Linked DNA regions of Homo sapiens: region 2 is linked to region 1. Evidence: promoter capture Hi-C in 16 types of primary human blood cells and fetal thymus (Javierre and others, 2016). All regions are on one chromosome and are shown on one strand. The core of a region is centred on a gene start or on the middle of the fragment in contact, and the rest is flanking DNA. Distances in the headings are between cores, read along the strand shown. Region 1 holds the start of GIMAP1 (GTPase, IMAP family member 1). Region 2 has its middle 25 kb from the start of GIMAP4.

What was found. The method cuts DNA at HindIII sites, captures the fragments that hold promoters and counts their contacts. A CHiCAGO score of 5 or more calls a contact.
Region 2: a contact is called between a fragment that was not itself captured here and the fragment with the promoter of GIMAP1 in region 1, in 7 of 17 cell types (total CD8 T cells, non-activated CD4 T cells, naive CD8 T cells and 4 more). The highest score is 15.6, in total CD8 T cells.

Annotation. Positions count from the first base shown.
Region 1 is chr7:150,715,139-150,718,216 of GRCh38, reverse strand. GIMAP1 (GTPase, IMAP family member 1) reads right to left here and starts at 1,604. Exons shown (of 3, transcript NM_130759.4): 1 at 1,527-1,604. It overlaps GIMAP1-GIMAP5 (GIMAP1-GIMAP5 readthrough), which reads right to left and starts at 1,604. Exons shown (of 5, transcript NM_001303630.2): 1 at 1,527-1,604. The HindIII fragment of the contact is 9,233 bases long and covers 981-3,078 here.
Region 2 is chr7:150,540,807-150,543,884 of GRCh38, reverse strand. It overlaps the pseudogene ALDH7A1P3. Among named protein-coding and RNA genes, the nearest start is that of GIMAP4, 25 kb to the left of the region's middle. The HindIII fragment of the contact is 2,016 bases long and covers 466-2,481 here.

The sequences.
Region 1 (3,078 bases), core at 355-2,854:
AATCACACAAGCTCCTGAACACAAATTCACTTCTCCCTGCATCTATGTCTCCAGCCTCATTCCCAGACAATACCCCACTCGGTCAGCTACTTCACAATCAGCAGATTTCAGGGCCTTTCCAACCCACTCGGCTTCCCCTCCTAGGACTATTGATCCTCCCCGACCATCTGTCTGTGCCTCACCATCCATGTCAAACTTGTTGTGTCTTGCACCCTGGTCACTTGGATACCTGTGTTCTCTCCCATTGGCACCACACATGAAGGAGGGGCAGAGAGAGAGGCTGGCTGAGTAACTTGTCTTTGATTGAAGGACTTGGAGAACAGATTTGCCTCATATTAAATCTAGAGCTGTTTCTGTTTCTGCAGGAACTCTACTGGCCCTCCCCAAAGCCTTCAATAAAATTCACTCCATGGGCCTTATGTGATTAATTATTTTGCATGTAGGAATGAACAGATGATCATAAATGACATCAAAGCAGAAATGAAGAAACAGTTGCAAGATTCAGAGAAAAGAATTTAGATGAAGCAAAATGTCCTTGTCAACCAAGAAAATGAGAATTTCTTTTTCCAGTGCTGCAGAATTCTGGATAGGCCTTTGGAATTTTCCATAGTTTAGAAGAGGGGTTGAAATGATTTTAAATAGTTTTTTTTTTTAAAGGAAAGTAAGACCCAGCTGAACTCTGAGGTGACAAATGGCCCTTAATCATTGAGGAATGTACACTTATAGAATCCTGTATTCCTAACACTTTAAGAGACCGCAAAGTTTATTGAGTTCTTCACCGCTCAAATGTGCTGCTTCTCAGAATTACTTGAATGTTCTTTAAAAATGTACATCTCTTGGATCCATCCTGAGATTCTGATTCATGAATTAAATGTTTCTGATGTCCACAGCTCAGAACTTGGACATCAGTCATTTTTGCAACCCCCTTTATTGTACAGATGGGAATTTGAGGTGTCCCCGTGGCTGGAGCAGGAGAAGCTTGAATTAAGGGAGCAGATGTTTAAGGGGCCATGCAGGGAAAGGGGTTGAAGACCAAGATATTAATCTCAGATGTCTCCTCAGGGGCCCCTTCTGTGGACAGTGAGGAGGAGAGTTCAAATGTACCCAGTCTTGTCACGTCGTAACTCACTCCGAGGTTAGATGGCTTATGGGGCCATAGAAATATCTTTTGCCTTTGCTCAATAGGGAGCTTGAGGAATGTTTAATGCCTTTCAAACTGTATTTTATTCCTGGAGGTGGTTCCAGCACACTCTTTTCTTACTTTGTTAAGGGAATGTGGGAGGAGACAGATTTCACTCCCCACCAAGAACGTGTGTGCTCCAGAGCTGGAGAAGATGATCCTAAAATTTCCTCTGAACTTTGCCTACTTAAAAACCTGGAAGTATGTCCTTGATTGTTCCAGATCTTGCTCGCCTGCATGATGCCTTGTAGAATGCAAGTGTTCAGGCAGTAAACACTCTAGGAATCATGTTCTTTCTGGTTCTCAGAGCACCCCCAGCCCCCGCCACTCCCAGGCTCAGGCTCACCTTTCCTGGTGACAGGCTCTGAAGTTGGCCACAAGAAGCCCCAACCTGCTGCTTTCCCTTCGGCTGTGAGTGCAGAAGGCTGTTTCCTCTCGGCACACGGAGGAAATCACTCAGACTTCAGAAATCAGGAAGCTCAGGGTGGGCCCCATGGTTATGGTTTAAAGAGACAGAAACATTTCCCATTGAGCTGTGGGTTGGCAATACTTCTCCTACCGACTCTACTTTCTGCTGTGACTGAGGTTATGTGTCTCCAGCAGGGCCTCATGATGTCAAATATCTTGCCATGCTCTAAGAAGGGAGGGATGTTGTAGTCTCTGAGGCCTGACTGTACTTCTAAAATTGATTACTGAGCTAATCTTCAGTTGCCTTTGCCCTATAGGGACATTTCCCCATATAAAATAGGCCCAGAGAGTCTCCTGCCCCGGAACAAATAACGTAATAGCTGTTCTCATCATCTGTCCATTAATTAGACATTCATGTGGCCAGTGCCAGCCCCAGATCCAGTCTGCCAGAAAAACCTGAAGGCAAAGTCTTATCATTCTCTGAGAGAGGAGGGCTTTCCCAGCTATTGAAGGACTTGAGGGTGAACTGGTATGTTGAGGATGAACACCTTCGCACTATCTTCAATTTAGCCTTATTAGGAGGCTTTAGTCTAGTCGTCTATGTTGGTATCACCAGTTCTAGTTATTCTATCTTCTCTCAAGAGCATCATGAGGTCAGCAAAAAAGCGAATCACTGGGTGGTAAGAAGGCTACAGAGGAGCAGGCTGCATATCTGGTTAGGTCATTAACCAGCTATAGGACCTCACCTAACTCATTTAAACTTTCTGGAGTTGGCTTTCTGGAGTATATGGGGAAGACAATAACCCGAGTCTTACCCTACTGGATAGGATCTGCTTTTTAACCTCTTTCATGCCAGACCACTTTTTTTCTGGTAGGGAAGAGACCCAGCTTTTACTGTTTCCCATCTTTTTGGGGGCACAGAGTCTCCTGGATATCTGACATGTCCACTGTTTCCATTCATCATTGCTGAAACAGGGAGCCTGTCATTCTCCCAGTAGACCGGCAGGGCTGGGGCTATTGTGAGGCAGGTGGGGCATCTAGAGCACACAGCTTAAGGAGGCACTCACTCTCAGGTCACCCAAGTGCAGATCTTGTAGGTGGGTGACCCTGGGAGTGAGTGTTTTCTTAAGAGTGAGGTGCCTAGGGCTTCTCACTAGCCTCATCCTAGCCCAAGCCACATAGATCAGCTTTGAATAAGTCTTTGATACTTGACGTGTACCTTTCATAAAGACGCTTTCAGAGCCTCTTCAACAGCTCCGGGCCATTTATTGTTTCCATGCATGTGTATGATGTCTTACTTCAGCCACTCATAACTCTCTGTCAGAGGGTTTATCTGACTACAAAAGTATATGTAGGTAATGCATGCAGCAGCCTGAAGTTGTCAGAGCTGATATCCTAGGAGCAGATTTCAATCAATGTCAGTTAGGACTTATGGATAAACACCACAACTTATCAAGTTGTCCACCACGTGAGACAACTCTGTGATGTAC
Region 2 (3,078 bases), core at 224-2,723, 170 kb after region 1:
TCCTTAGCTTCCTTGCATTGGGTTAGAACATGCTCCTTTAGCTTGATGGAGTTTGTTATTGCCCACATTCTGAAGCCTACTTCTGTCAATTTGTCAAATTCATTCTCAGTCTTGGTTTGTTCCCTTGCTGGTGAGGAGTTGTGCTCCTTTGGAGGAGAAAAGGCATTCTGGTTTTTGGAGTTTTCAGCTTTTTTGCACTAGTTTTTCCTCATCTTGGTGGATTTATCTACCTTTGGTCTTTGCTGTTGGTAACCTTTGGATGGGGTTTTTGCATGGTTGTTTTCTTGTTGTTGATGTTGATGCTATTGCTTACTGTTTGTTAGTTTTCCTTCTAACAGTGAGGCTCCTCTGCTGCAGGTCTGCAGGAGTTTGTTGGAGGTCCACTCCAGACCCTGTTTGCCTGAGTATTACCACTGAGGGTTGCAGAACAGCAAAGATTGCTGCCTGCTCCTTCCTCTGGAAGCTTCATCCCAGAGGGGCACCCAACAGATGCCAGCCAGAGCCCTCCTGTATGAGGTGTCTGTCAACCCCTGATGAGAGATGTCTCCCCATCAGGAGGCACGGGGTTCAGGGACCCACTTGAGAAGGTAGTCTGTCCCTTAGCAGAGCTCGAGCACTGTGCTGGGAGATCTGCTGCTCTCTTTAGAGCTGGCAGGCAGGAATATTTAAGTCTGCTGAAGCTGTACACACAGCCACCCCTCCCCGCAAGTGCTCTGTCCCAGGGAGATGGGAGATTTATCTATAAGCCCCTGACTGGGGCTGCTGCTTTTCTTTCAGAGATGCTCTGCCTAGAGAAGACGAATCTAGAGAGGCAGTCTGGCTACAGCAGCTTTGAGGCACTGCAGTGGGCTCTGCCCAGTCCAAACTTCCCAGTGGCTTTGTTCATATTGTGAGGGGAAAACTGCCCTCTCAAGCCTCAGTAATGGTGGACCCATAATTTTCTTCATGATGTTTTTATTTTGCTTCCTAATTCAATAAGATTTTTTTTCATTCTGTCAGAGACATTTTCTTTTGATTGTACTACTCAAAATTAACAATGTTATTCATCTCTCATTGTTTACTTTTTCTAAGAAAACCAGAATAATGGTATCCTGAAAACTAGAAATAACTCAACAAAGCCTGCAAATCTCCTTCCTCTAAAATCCCATTGGGGCAAAGCACTGTTCTGTTAGCAATATACCCTTCCTCTAGGCCCAGGGACTACCAGGGAAGAGGTGGATGCATGAGATTGTAAGGGCCAGTTTTAAGGGGTTCAGATCCCCAAAATCAAGGGCAGGCACACACACATGCTTATACAGGGGGTAAATTGATGGACTTTGTCTCCTGAGCCATTATATGCCCCCTTTCCATCTTTCTCAATCATGAAAAAAAATTTCTACTTTAATATAAGAGCCCAAACCCAAAGGCTTGGCCACATTCTGGGACCCATGTGTATTTACAATTAAATGTAAAACAGTTTTATTCCTCAAACCTAGACCAATTCCCCTTGTCAGCAAACAGTAGCTAGAATTGCCATTGCCCCATATCCCTCAAGATTGAGGAATGCACAACAGAAAGGGAGTTGATATAGTTTGAATATGTGTTGCTGCCAAATTTCATGTTGAATTGTGATCCCCAGTGTTGGAGGTGGGGTCTTGGGGGAGGTGTTTGGGTCATAAGGGCAGACTCTCATGTCATAGTGCATTCTTTTGAGATCCAGTTGTTTAAATGTGTGGAACCTTCCCTACCCATTCTCTCTCTCTTGTTCCTGCTCTGCCATGTGATGTGTCTGTTCCTGCTTCTATACACAGAGACTTTTGCTCCAATTCTCTATGTTTTTAAATTTAAGAATGAAGAAGAGCTCTTTGTGTGAAATAATGAAGTAAAACAGGGTATTTCAAGTAGCATCTTTACCAAAGATTTGGGCAGAATCTTCCACTGGCTTGGACCTAAAAGATCTAACTGTGGCATTGTAAATGTCAATATTCCAATGAGCGGAGCTGAGATTGCAGGTGCATTTGGAGGAGAAAAGCACATTTGTGGTGGCAGGGCATCTGGTGATGACTCCTGGAAATAGTGCATGAGAAGGTTTACTTGTATCATCAACTATGGTAAGGATCTTCCTCTGGTGAAAGGAATCAAGTTTCAGTAAAGTTTTATGGACGAACATTGCTTAATTTTAGGTGTTCCTGCAGCTGTTTCTGAAGAAGAAAAAAAAAATTAAAATTTTCCCTGAATAAATGCATCATTATGACTATGACAGTGACTAATGTCTTATGACCCCAAAGCCCTGATTAAATCAACAGACTCATTTTTTAAAAAATCAAAACAAAATTGTCACATTAAAAAATGGTATTGATGAATAGAGCCCTGCTATAAAAATACTTGAAAATGTGGAAGCAGCTTTGGAACTGGGTAACAGGCAGAGGTTGGAAGAGTTTGTGGAGGCCTCCATGTGGTATTAAGCCCACAGGCATACAGAATGCAAGAGTGAAGGAAGCTTGGCAGCCTCCACCAAGATTTCAGAGGATGTATGAGAAAGCCTGGGTGCCCAGAAAGAAGCCTGTTGCAGGGGCAGAGCCCTCACAGAGAACCTTTAATAGCAGGGTTTGGAGGGGAAATGAGTTAGAAGCCCCACACAGAATCCCTACTGGGGCACTGCCTAGTGGAGTTAAAGCTCCCTGAGGCCTCCCTAGAAGCTGAGCTGATGCCAGCACTATGCTTGTACAGCCTGCAGAACCATGATCTGATTAAACCTATTTTCTTTACAAATTACCCAGTCTCAGGTAATTCTTTATCACAATGTAAGAACTGCCTAATATAGAAAATTGGTACTGAGGAATGGGGCATTGCTATAAAGATACCTGAAAATGTGGAAGCAGCTTTGGAACTGGGTAGCAGAGGTTAGAAGACTTTGTAGAGATCAGAAGAAGATGGGAAAATGAGGGAAAGTTTGAAACTTCTTAGGGACTGGTTAAATTGTTTTGAGCAAAACAATGATAGTGATATGGACAATTAAGTCCAGGTTGCCAAGGTATCAGATGGAAATGAGAAACATACTGGGAACTGGAGCAAAAGTCACCCTTGTTATGCCTTAGC